3 separate regions of the Homo sapiens genome follow, and all the other regions are linked to region 2. The links are contacts of gene promoters, found by promoter capture Hi-C in blood cells and fetal thymus (Javierre and others, 2016). All regions are on one chromosome and are shown on one strand. Each heading gives the region's core, a stretch centred on a gene start or on the middle of the fragment in contact. The rest is flanking DNA. Distances are from core to core; before and after follow the strand shown.

Evidence for each region. Contacts are between HindIII fragments. The CHiCAGO score rates a contact against its expected background, and 5 or more counts as called.
Region 1: a contact is called between a fragment that was not itself captured here and the fragment with the promoter of EIF2B3 in region 2, in 2 of 17 cell types (naive CD4 T cells and total CD8 T cells). The highest score is 6.0, in naive CD4 T cells.
Region 3: a contact is called between a fragment that was not itself captured here and the fragment with the promoter of EIF2B3 in region 2, in 2 of 17 cell types (naive CD4 T cells and total B cells). The highest score is 6.1, in naive CD4 T cells.

Annotation. Positions count from the first base shown.
Region 1 is chr1:45,518,425-45,522,804 of GRCh38, forward strand. PRDX1 (peroxiredoxin 1) reads right to left here and starts at 3,460. Exons shown (of 6, transcript NM_181697.3): 1 at 3,405-3,460; 2 at 514-630. The coding sequence starts at 619. RefSeq lists a silencer at 2,654-2,816 and an enhancer at 3,859-3,938. The HindIII fragment of the contact is 543 bases long and covers 2,518-3,060 here.
Region 2 is chr1:44,985,298-44,989,222 of GRCh38, forward strand. EIF2B3 (eukaryotic translation initiation factor 2B subunit gamma) reads right to left here and starts at 1,298. Exons shown (of 12, transcript NM_020365.5): 1 at 1,196-1,298. It also overlaps the pseudogene PPIAP35. RefSeq lists enhancers at 1,072-1,341, 1,300-1,881, 1,592-1,641 and a silencer at 1,432-1,521. The HindIII fragment of the contact is 3,433 bases long and covers 512-3,925 here.
Region 3 is chr1:45,609,989-45,614,273 of GRCh38, forward strand. It overlaps NASP (nuclear autoantigenic sperm protein), which reads left to right. Exons shown (of 15, transcript NM_002482.4): 7 at 3,181-3,260; 8 at 4,108-4,193. Among named protein-coding and RNA genes, the nearest start is that of CCDC17, 12 kb to the right of the region's middle. The HindIII fragment of the contact is 216 bases long and covers 2,203-2,418 here.

The DNA.
Region 1 (4,380 bases), core at 1,539-4,038, 530 kb after region 2:
CCATTGCACTCTAGCCTGGGCAACAAGAGCAAAACTCCATCTCAAAAAAAAAAAAAAAAAAAAAAAGTACAAAAATTAGCCAGGCATGGCAGCATGCCCCTACAGTCCCAGCTACTTGGGAGGCTGAGGTAGGAGGACCACCTGAGCCCAGAGAGGTAGAGGCTGCAGTGAGCCATGACTGCGCCACTGCACTCCAGCCTGGGTGACAGAATGAGACCCTGTCTCAAAAATAAAAATAAAGAAAGAAAATAGACGAGGAATACTGAAAAGATAATTGAGCTAGTATGTCCAGACATAATGAAGCATGTGGTTTCTCCAGAAGTGGTTTGGTCCTAGGATATATACCCTGTAATCACTTGATAATCACCACTTCAACATGAAGGTAACAACCTAAATACTTCTTCCTAGGAGACAAAACATTTTACAGTCAAACAACATTGACACAAATCTAACAAGCCACCCCTAGAATATAAAATAACTCCATCTCAATGAGCCCAGTGTTAATTCTCTCACCTTTGTAGTCAGACAGGCTGATATCTTTAAACTGACCATCTGGCATAACAGCTGTGGCTTTGAAGTTGGGGGCAGGGTGCCCAATTTTAGCATTTCCTGAAGACATCTTCCTATCAGCTAGAAATAACAGAAATGAATTAGAAACAAGCCTTAATTTTCTACATAACCAGCAGCCTTCACCTACTTAAAGAGACTTAGCTGTAAACAATCAAGGCATTGTCCAGTGTCCCTGAATACATTAAATGTTGTTTTAGTAAGAAGCTCCAGCCAGCAGTCAAGGGTCACAGTCTGAGCTTTCCAACTTTTGGAACGAAACAAGTCTCTGAATCTCAGCCTTTGTTTTCATTTAAAAACAGCAAGGCAATTTCTTTATATACTGAGATAACCTCTCATTCTTTCTGAACCATAATTAGTGCAGTGGCATCTTATTCATTATACAGAAGCAGAGAGAGAGGCAGATGAAGACTCTCAAACCAGAATCCAAATGCACAATGCCACAAACACTTTTGTTTGGCTCCCCAAAAGTCACGTTGACCTTTCCCATCACTGTGCCTCCACCTGCCTTCATAACATCAGAAGCATATTTGACTTTTCTCCAGGTAGCTTTGTCCAAGACAGCACACAACCTATAACTAATTCAACTTGTTTTATTTGTTTTTGTTTTGTTTTGTTTTTTTGACGGAGTTTCGCTCTTGGGGCCCAGGCTGGAATGCAATGGCATTATCTCGGCTCACTGCAACCTCCACCTCTCAGGTTCAAGGGATTCTCCTGCCTCAGCCTCCATAGTAGCTGGGATTACAGGCGCAGGCCACCACACCCGGCTAATTTTTTTGTACTTCTATTAGAGACGGGATTTCTCCATGTTGGTCAGGCTAGTCTCAAACTCCTCACCTCAGATGATTGCCCAACTCAGTCTCCCAAAATGCTGGGATTACAGGCGTGAGCCACCGCGCCCTTCCAGTCAGTCCAACTTTTAAGAGGCAAGACCACTGGGCGCAGTGTCTCACACCTGTAATCCCAGCACTTTGAGAGGCTCAGGCGGGCGGATCACCGGGTCAGGAGTTCGAGACCAGTCTGGCCAACATGGTGAAACCCCGTCTCTACTAGAAACACAAAAATTAGTCGGGCGTGGTGGTGCATGCCTGTAATCGCAACTACTCAGGAGGCTGAAGCAGGAGAATCACTTGAACCCGGGAGGCAGAGGTTGCAGTAAGCTGAGATCGCGCCACTGCACTCCAGCCTGGGCAACAGAGTGAGACTCTGTCTCCAAAAAAAAAAAAAAAAAAAAGAGGCAAGACCAAGATATTGATTGGCATCTGCTTAATTTCAAATCTTTAGGTATTGTGTAAGCCCTAGAATTCCCTTCACCATTTGTGAAGGTGGGTTCCTGACTTTGGGGCTAATATCCCAGGGCGAAAACAAGTATAAGAATCAATTTACTGCTGAAAAGGAAGGTTGCACTGGATTCACCCAGATCAACACCAAGATTAGTATTGAGATCTTGGCCAAGCGCTGTGGCTCAAGCCTGTAATCCCAGCACTTTGGGAGGCCGAGGCAGGCAGATCACCTGAGGTCAGAAGTTCGAGACCAGCCTGGCCATCATAGTGAAACCCCGTCTCTAACAAAAATACAAAAAATTAGCCGGGGGTGGTGGCACGCGCCTGCAGTCCCAGCTACTCGGGAGGCTGAGGCAGGAGAATGGCGTGAACCCGGGAGGCGGAGGCTGCAGTGAGCCGAGATCCAGCCACTGCACTCCAGCCTGGGCGACAGAGCGAGACTCCGTCTCAAAAAAAAAAAAAAAAAAAAAATACAAAAATTAGCCGGGGCTTGGTGGCACAAGCCTGTAATCCCAGCTACTCCTAAGGCTGAGGCAGAAGAATTGCTTGAATTCGGGAGACAGGGGTTGCAGTAAGCCGAGACCGCGCCACTGCACTCCAGCCTGGCCGACAGAGCGAGACTCTAGCTCAAAAAACAGAGATTTAACCCACTAAGCCGCGGTCTGAAAGCTTTTCCAAGTCCCAAAGTTCTTAGTTCACAATACCACAAGCAAAAGAAATTTTGTAAGCATGGATCTTAGCAAACTTTTAACTGTTTTTTAAAAAGTCCTTAACACCTTTAACGACAAAAAACAAAAACCAAAAACTAAGGCATGCTGCAACTTGGTGCCCCCAAATGGCCTTCTCGTCCAATCCTTCTTTCCCAAGTGGCCCCCAAGTACAAAACCCAACCAATTCGGGGTAAAGGCTGCTGGGATTCAGGCCGCCACCGGGCCCCTTCAGGGGATCTGCCCAGCGTAGAGGGCCACATCCCTAAACCCCACTTCAGGTGCCCCCTGTCCCTCCCCAGCACTGGAGAAAGCACCAGCAGAGAGAGTGCTTCAGCGGGGACATTTGGGCTCATCGCTAACTCCATTCCACGTACAGGAAAATAAAGACGGGGAAAGGGTACCCGAAGCTCCGCAGCTAGTCAAGGCTCAGGACCCGGAACAGCCAAATACATAGAGGCTGTCTTCTACAGCCACGAGTCTGGATACAGGTCCATTCCAGAAGCTTCCCGAACCCACCCCGTCCGGCAGGAGGCTAGTCTCGGAGACCCCCACCACCAGCCCGCCCAGACGCCGCGCCACGTGCTCGAGTTGCCGGGGGAAGACTCGACTCGAGTCCACGCTTGCCTTGGGGTTCAACCAGGTTCCCGCACCTACGTGGGGGGCCCACGAGAGGGGTGTGCGCAGCGCTCAAGCAGTCTCGGACTCCGGGCCTCCCCCGGCTGCCTCACGCATCACAGCACCCCCACCCGAGCGCGGGCGGGCCCCGGACAGGAGGAGGAAGAGGCAACAGGCAAGAAGGGCGCGCCGCGCCTCACTCCGCAGGGGCCGCACTGCCCACACTCACCAGTCCCAACACAAGTCGCAGAAACTAACCACCGACACCAGGCAAGAACAAGACGCGCAAGAGCTCTCCGGGGCGCTGCCTTTATAGCCAGTAGGGATCTCGCGAGAGTCGGAACGGACGGGGGTGCCGGAGGAGGAGAGAGAGGAGGGGGATGTGGCCCGAGCCCCGCCCGGCGCGCCCCGCCGGAATGACTCGGCGCTTTCCCTCGTTGGGGCGGGTGCGGAAAAATACTAATACCCCACCCTGTTGCGGATGGCTGAGGTTGGAGTGAGGCGCCCTTGTGGCCGCTCCCGAACCCGAACGCTTAGGTTAATCCTAGATCTCTGCGGAAAACCAGGATTCTCTTTACTTCCAGGACCACTACGCACTGTGCCCTCAATGCCCAAACTGGAGTAAGCGTCTTAGCTGCTGCCCACGGAGGACCACGTCTAACCACACCAAGCCATGAGAACTGTCTATCCAAATATTTCTTAAGTTCGCAGCCTTAACCCCAGCGCAGATCCTCAGTAACCCTCATGGCTTAGATAGCTTCCTTCATTGTTCTCTTTAATTACAGGGTTGCTGCTTTCTGTTGTAAAGGAAAATAAAATATCAGGACTCCTAAACTTACGCCAGAGGGAAAGTTCATCTTGGGAGGCTGATTCAGTTACACGACCATCCTCTCCCCGGATGAATAATTTGACTTTACAATCTTGAGTCAAAACATTACACATTAGCCAGACCCACACGGTAAGGCAAAAGGCCTCAGACATTTCCTGATGACTACCCCCCACAAACACACATACACAAAATCATAATTAATTATTTGCTCCCCTGGAAACCTTTAAAGTATGTAGCCTCCCATAAAACAAGGACGTGTCAATTGCAACTAGATCTACAATATAAAGTCTAGTTCCTAAAACTAAAGTTTGTTCTATTCCACATTTTTTTGAGACGGAGTCTCACTCACCCTGTCGCCCAGGCTGTAGTGCAGTGG
Region 2 (3,925 bases), core at 48-2,547:
GAATCCTCTTGCCTACAAAGCCATTCCTAACCGTTCCCACCCCTCCAGAAGTGACTCCTTTTCCCGAAGTGCTTCCATTCTGCCATGTGCAGATTCTCTTAGCCTTTACGGGTTTCATTGCACGTATGTGTTTAAATGTCTACTTAAGTGTAACATTAATGTCTCTTAAATGTCTACATAAGAGTGTAAGAGTGACTTTCTTGGACTGTGTGTGCATCATCACTGTATTCCCAGTCAGATGCCAGAAATCAAAGTGGAATGAGGACCTGTGAACTTCACAACTGTATAAGAGTCAAACTCAAACATGTGCATAAGGGCATTAGAACCCAGGTCACTAGGAACTGAGGTTCCAGCTCTCAAGGAGGCCCTGGGTGAAGAAAGGCAACCTAGGAAGCATGAATAGTAATCATGAACATAACTAATCATGCTACCAGGCAGACTGTCAAATGCTCATGTCACTGCCACGACTATGGCTGACGGGAATCATGGCAACGAGTCTCGCTGCCTCCCAAGCTTTGGAGAGGGTGTTCACCGCATCTCAGACTTGCCTGCATCATAGCACTCATGCCTTTTCCAGTTGTAAATAGATAAGAAAACTGTATCAGAATTGGTCTGTCATTCCACGTGTGCTGCCTGAAGGCAGAGACCTCACTGCTCCTCCCTATATTTCACTGCCCTGCATCCAAACAACTAAAGGCAGGCTGAACAAATGAATGAAGGGCTGAGGCTGAAAGAGTGCAGGCACAGTGCTAAAGGCGTCTGGTACCGGTCTGGTGCTCGCTCACTCGCTGTGACTTTAAGCAGAACCCTCCCCGAAACTTCGTTTCTTTCTTTTCTTTTCTTTTTTTTTTTTTTTTTGAAACGGAGAGTCTCACTATGTTGCCCAGGCTGGAGTGCAGTGGCGCGAATTAGGCTCACTGCAACCTCCACCTCCTGGGTTCAAACGATTCTCCTGCCTCAGACTCTCGAGTAGCTGAGATTAGAAACTTAGTTCCTCCATCTGTTGCATAAGGTGGTTGGCTCGGATTCTCATCCCCAACCTCCCTTCTACTTCGGACACAGCTACACCGGGTCGAGCAGGGAGTCGAGCTGACAACTTCGGGGCTCAGCACCCTCTCCTACCCCTTCGGGTCCACCTCGGCCCAGTTCGACATGCCCGCCTCCCTCAGATGAGTGGCCCCACCGCACTGCTCACCCGGGTCAGCCAGCTTGTGTGCGGCCTGGCAGGGCAGAAGTCACAGCTATAACTCAGCTCCCGGCACGCCGCAACCGCTCCCAGCGATCTCCACGCCGCCTCTGACTGACAGCCCAATGGCGCAGGCGCGCGATGGCCGAGAAACTCGATGGAACGCGCAGAGCAGACCCATGGAGAAGAGAAGACCGCCGAGCGATGGATGACGGAGGGGAAGCACACTCAGCGGAGAGGAGGGAAGGCGGGCCGGAGGGGGCGGGGCCACCGAGGAGCATTCGACACGTGTGTCCCTCTGTCCATTAACACATTACCAACGCCTTTTGAGTATTCCTCCCAGTGCAGGGTGCCGGGAACCCAGACGGAACAACTCAGCCTCTTTCCTCAGGGAGTAAGTCTAAGACCTGGCTTCGAGTACATTCGGTGAAAGAAAGCTCATTGGGAGCCGCAATTTTGGCTAGCTAGTGAAAAAAATCACCGAATGCCCCTGCAGGGGTTGCCAGGACTTCCTATTTGTTTTTGTTGTTGTTGTTGTTGTTGTTTGTTTTTTGTTTTTTTTGAGACGGAGTCTCGCTCTGCGTCGCCCAGGCTGGAGTGCAGTGGCGCGATCTCGGCTCACTGCAAGCTCGGCCTCCCGGGTTCACGCCATTTTCCTCCCTCAGCCTCCCGAGGAGCTGGGACTACAGGCGCCTGCCACCATGCCCGGCTAATTTTTTTGTATTTTTAGTAGAGACGGGGGTTTCACTGTGTTAGCCAGGATGGTCTCGATCTCCTGACCTCGTGATCCGCCCGCCTCGGCCTCCCAAAGTGCTGGGATTACAGGCGTGAGCCACCGCGCCCGGCCCGGGACTTCCTATTTGTAACAGGGCCACTCACGTTAACTTTAGCCATCAAAACTGGGGGCGGCTGGGCATGGTGGCTCATGCCTGTAATCTCCGCAATTTGGGAAGCCGAGGTGGGAGGATTGCTTGAAACCGGGCGTTCAAGACCAGCCTGTGCGAGAGAGCCTCCAGTCTCTACAAAAGTAAAAATTAGCTGGGCATGGTAGTGTGTGCCTGTAGTCCCAGCTGCTCAGGAGGCTGAAACGGGAGGATCGCTTGAGCCCAGGAGTTCGAGGCTGCAGTGAGCTATGATCGGGCCACTGCACTCCTCCTGCCTAGACGACAGAGTGAGACCCTGTTTTTTTTTTTTAATTTAGTTTTTATTTCATAATCATAAACTTAACTCAGCAATCCAGTTAGGCATGGAAAGGAACAAGGAAAACATGGAACCCAAAGGGAACTGCAGCAAGAGCACAAAGATAAGATACTGCGAGCAGGCCGGGCGTGGTGGCTCACGTCTGTAATCCTAGCACTTTGGGAGGCCGAGGCAGGCAGATTGCCTGAGCTCAGGAGTTCAAGATCAGCCTGGGCAACATGGTGAAACCCCGTCTCTACTAAAATACAAAAAAAAAAAAAAAAAGAAAGAAAGAAAGAAAGAAAAAATTAGCCAGGCATGGCGGCGTGCGCCTGTAGTCCCAGCTACTCGGGAGGCTGAGGAAAGAGAATTGCTTGAACCCGGGAAGTGGAGGTTGCAGTGAGCCGAGATCGTGCCACTGCACTTCAGCCTGGGAGAGGGCGACAGGGTGAGACAGCGTCTCAAAAAAAAAAAAAAAAAAAAATACTGCAAGCAAATGGGGTGAAGGGGTGCTCTTCTGAGCTACAAAAGGAATGGTCTGGTGGTTAAGATAAAACAAAAGCCAAACTTGTTAGAGTTGTCCACAGTCAGCAATGGTGATCTTCTTGCTGGTCTTGCCATTCTCGGACCCAAAGTGCCCCATGGCCTCCACAATATTCATGCCTTCTTTCACCTTGCCAAAGACCACAGGATTGCCATCCAGCCACTCAGTCTTGGCAGTGCAGATGAAACACTGGGAACCATTTGTGTTGGGTCCAGCATTTGCCATGGACAAGATGCCAGGATGTGTATGCTTTAGGACGAAGCTCTCGTCATCAAATTTCTCCCCGCAGGTGTACTTGCCACCAGTGCCATTATGGCATGTGAAGTCACCACCCTGACACATAAACCCTGGAATAATTCTGTGAAAGCAGGAACCTTTATAACCAAATCCTTTCTCTACATTGCTCAGAGCACGAAAGTTTTCTGCTGCCTTTGGAACCTTGTCTGCAAACGGCTCGAAGGACACGCGGCCCAAGGGCTTGCCGTCGACAGCGATGTCGAACACGGTGGGGTTAACCATGGCTGATCGTACAGAGCTCCTGGCGTCGGTGGCTGCATTTGCAAAGCCGAGACCCTGCTTTTAACAAAACAATAATAGGCCAGGTGCGGTGGCTCACGCTTGTAATCCCAGAAGTTTAGGAAGTGAGGCGGATGGATCCCTTGGGCCCAGGAGTTCGAGACTAGCCTGGGCAACGTAGTGAAACACCCTCTCTACTAAAAATACAAAAATTAGTCAGGTGTGGTGCCGCGCTGTGGGGTTCCAGCTACTTGGAAGGCTGAGGCAGGAGGATCGCTGGAGCCCAAGAGGCAGAGGTGGCAGTGAGCCAATATGGTATCACTGCACTTCAGCCTGGGTAACAAAGAGACAGGATCTCTAAGTAAATAAAATAAATATTAAAAAATGACGAATAGATAATAAAATAATTGTTGTTCTAAGCTCTACGGTTTGGAGTGGTTTATCAAGTTGCACTAGATAACAGGACCAATGGCCATTCTCTTTTTCCCATGCATTCCTGC
Region 3 (4,285 bases), core at 1,061-3,560, 630 kb after region 2:
AGAAGTTTGAGACCAGCCTGGCCAATATGTTGAAACTTTGACTCTACTAAAAATACAAAAATTAGCTGGACGTGGTGGCATGCGCCTGTGGTCCCAGCTACTTGGGAGGCTGAACCAGAAGAATCGCTTGAACCCGGGAGGCAGAGGTTGCAGTGAGCTGAGATCATGCCGCTGTGCTCCAGCCTGGGCAACACAGCGAGTCTCTGTCTTCCAAAAGAAAAAAAAAATCTGTCACTTATTTAAAAAGTTAACTATATTTTAAAAGCCCCAGGCTTTTCATATGCTGCATTTTTTGGTGTTGTATATCAGATACTGTTCTGCTTGTAAAGACAATACAGTTTTCCATATTTTACAAAAGAAGAAATGGGAGAAAGGGGTTTAAGTAACTTGCCCTAGTCACACAGTAAGGAGAAGCCTGCTACCCAAACTTCTGGCTTGAGTACTCAACCACTTACTTTCTGTGCTTTATTTCCCTTTACGTGGCAGCACCATTCTGCAGAAAACTTCCAAGCAGTTTTTTTCACTTAAAAATTAAAACCCTGTTTACTGCCACCTCTTGACTCTTTGCCATGTGTTGGGCTGTACATTTGCTTCTAATAAAGATAATTGGTCTGTTCTTTTTCTCTTTGAATCGGGTCTTGCTCTTTTGCCAGGCTGGAGTACAGTGGCATCGCAGTCATGGCTCACGACAGCCTCAAACTCCTATGCTGAAGCCATCTTCCTCCCTCAGTCTCTCAGGCAGCTGAGACTATGGGTGTGTATCACCATGCCCAGCTGGGGTGCAGTGGTGCGGTCTCGCTCACTGCAACCTGCATCTCCCAGGTTCAAGCGATTCTCCTACGTCAGCCTCCTGAGTAGCTGGGACTAAAGGCACATGTCCCCAGGCCCGACTAATTTTTTTGTATTTTTACTAGAGATGGGATTTCACCATGCTGGCCAGGTTGGTCTCGAACTCCTGACCTCAGGTGATCCACTAGCCTCAGCCTCCCAGAGTGCTGGGATTACAGGTGTGAACCATTGCACCTGGCCCACCATACACCATTATCTTCTCATATCCACATTTCCAAGTGGGTCCGGGCTTAGTTCCCCAAAGTTAGACCAGATGGATGGTCTTATTAACTCTGCCCATCCTCTAGCAGAATATGCAGAAAAGCTGAAGTAGATTTACATATGTAGGATAATTGATAGAAAAGTAAATACTTCATCTTCCCAATTTGTAGGAAAAATTAAATTGATATTGTTATCTTCTATTCTTACCTGGTATCTCTTCCTACTCATACCAGAATACTAGAAGACAACCTCTAATTTGAAACAAAATATCTTAATTACTTGGAAGTTTTACATCAAATTTTTAAATTAAAATTCCTATAATTGCTTCAGAAGAATATTACTGGTTCCTCTTGAGGAATCTGTACCATCTTCAAGGAATGGTGGGGAGCTAGGTTAAGGAGAAAGCCATCGCCATTACTTTTTTTTTTTTTTTTTTTTTTTTTTTTGAGACAGAGTCTTGCTCTGTCACCCAGGCTGGAATGCAGTGGCGTGATCTAGGCTCACTGCAACCTCCGCCTCCTAGGTTCAAGTGATTGTTCTGCCTCCGCCTCCCGAGTAGCTGGGACTACAGGCATGTGCCACCACGCCTGGCTAATTTTTTGTATTTTTAGTAGAGACGGGGTTTCACCGTGTTAGCCAGGATGGTCCCAATCTCCTGACCTGGTGATCTGCCCACCTTGGCCTCCCAAAGTGCTAGGATTACAGGTGTGAGCCACCGCGCCTGGCAGCCATTGCCATTACTTTAAAACCTTTCCCAACTTGTGCCCAGGTATCAATGGCAATGCCCTGATGTCCTCAGTAAATTTGTTAAAGTATCTTTTTTTTTTTTTTTTTTTTTTGAGACGGAGTCTTGCTCTGTCACCCAGGCTGGAGTGCAGTGGTGCGATAATCCGCTCACTGCAAGCTCCACCTCCTGGGTTCACGCCATGCTCCTGCCTCAGCCTCCCAAGTAGCTGGGACTACATGCGCCTGCCACCACACCTGGCTAATTTTTTTGTTTTTTGGTTTTTTTTTTTAGTAGAGACGGGGTTTCACCATGTTCGCCAGGATGGTCTCAATCTCCTGACCTCGTGATCCGCCCGCCTCGGCCTCCCAAAGAGCTGGGATTACAGGCGTGAGTCACCGCGCCTGACCCTGTTAAAGTATTTTCTAAGCTTCTTTGAAAACGGAATCTCTTTGTGGTTGCTGCTGATAAAACTCCTTTGACCTGACGATTGCTCTAAGTCCTAATTGCCATATTTATATTCCCATAGTAAGAGTGTTTGGAGATAGTGTTTGAGCTTTTTTGCTGGTGTTAAAAATGCATAATGAAAGATGGCAGAGAGAGGCATATTATATCCAATTCATGAGTTGTTTGTGTTAACAGAAAGCTTATTTTAATCACTTAACATTGTTGATTTGTCTAATCACAGTAGCGCTATTGATTAGGAGCCTGACCTTTAGATGGTTGACTTGTGAGTGTATTCAATATGGTGAAATATGGTGTTGATATATGGCTGCAGATTTTAGAGGTGTCATTAGCAAAGGTATAGGAGTAAAATAGGGGTTATAGTATTCCTTACTCAAATTCTGTATGTGCTAGAGCTGGCTGGAGTCTGTGGCATGCTCATTGGTGTAAGTCGGTAAGGACTATGCTTTTTGCTCCACATCTCTGTTGTGGGAAAGCTAGTCTCTTGAGCATTCTTGATCAGAATGGACTGGAATAATTTAACTTTCGTACTTTCCCAGGCTATTAGTATTATCTAATGAGTGGCTTAAAGATACCAGAAACACTGACTGAGGTCTCCACCTGCTTCTGGCTGAATGAATGGGAGCTTCTAGCCATTGAATAAGAGGCAGTAGCCAATGTTTCTTATTCTGAATGGTCCAGGTTGACTTTTATAAGAGAAACACTCAGCCTTTTAATTGCTGAAGGTCTGACCCATAGACTAAGATTGCACATTCTTAGTCTAGGTTACACTTGAACTAGACTGCACCCACTGACGATATATTCAGTTCAGGTGTTAACTCACTTGGATTAGCATCTGGCCTGTCCTATCTGAATATAGGTTGAGACGTGTATTGGAATCTCTGACTAGTCAGAATACGTTCTTAGTTATATTCTCAATACTGAGGAATTTTTACTTGTAGAAACTGAAGGCTCAGAAGAGGATGATAAAGAAAATGATAAGACCGAAGAAATGCCAAATGATTCAGTCCTTGAAAACAAGGTATGTTGTTAGCCACTCAGTACTGTTGTCAGCCTTTTTCTGTTTTTGGGAGACTGGAGCTCACTCTTGTTGCCTAGGCTGGATTGCAGTGGGGTGATCATGATCATGGCTCACTGCAGCCTAGACCCGGGCTTAAGTGATCGCCTCACCTCAGCCTCTCAAGTAGCTGGGACTACAGGCTTGTGCCAACATGCCCAGCTAGTTTGCAGGACTGTAGCTTACCTAGTTTAGGCACGATTATTATTTTTTTAAGAGATAGAATCTCTGTCTCTGCCCAGGCCGGAGTGCACTGGCATGATCAGGGCTCACTGTATCTTTAGCCTCCTGGGTTCAAGGAATCCTTCTGCCTCATCTTCTCAGATAGCTAGGTCTCCAGATGTCTGCCACCATGTCTGGCTAATTTGTTCTCTAATTTTATTTTGTTTAGACGGCTGTCTTGCTGTGCTGCCCAGGCTGGTCTCAAACCTGGCTTCAAGTTATTCTCCTGCCTCAGCCTCCCAAAGTGTTGGGATTATAGGCATAACCCACCATGCCCAGCCCTAGGCATGATTATTATAGATAACTGTCTCTTGATTATGGATTAGGGACCCTTTATTCATGCCTAGGATGGGTGGATATATTTGATCCTGGGGTTCTTGTGTGTTAGTATGTGAGCCAACATTTCACTGTTAAAATATCAGTGACATGGTCATGACTTAAGACAGTATGTGGACCCATTCTCTAGATTTTAGGGAGAAAGTCCAAATTTTGAATCGTATATCAACTTTTTTTAAGCTACGCTAAGTTATACATTTAGATTTGTATTTGAAAAAGATGCCTATCTTTTTATTATTTGGTTATACTTTAGTCTCTTCAAGAAAATGAGGAGGAGGAGATTGGGAACCTAGAGCTTGCCTGGGATATGCTGGATTTAGCAAAGATCATTTTTAAAAGGTAAAACTCTTGGTGCTTCTAGGCTTGGGTTGGGAGTTTGGTGGTTAAATAGAAACCAGTTAGGGTTAGACAGGTACTGTTAAGGTTTTTGA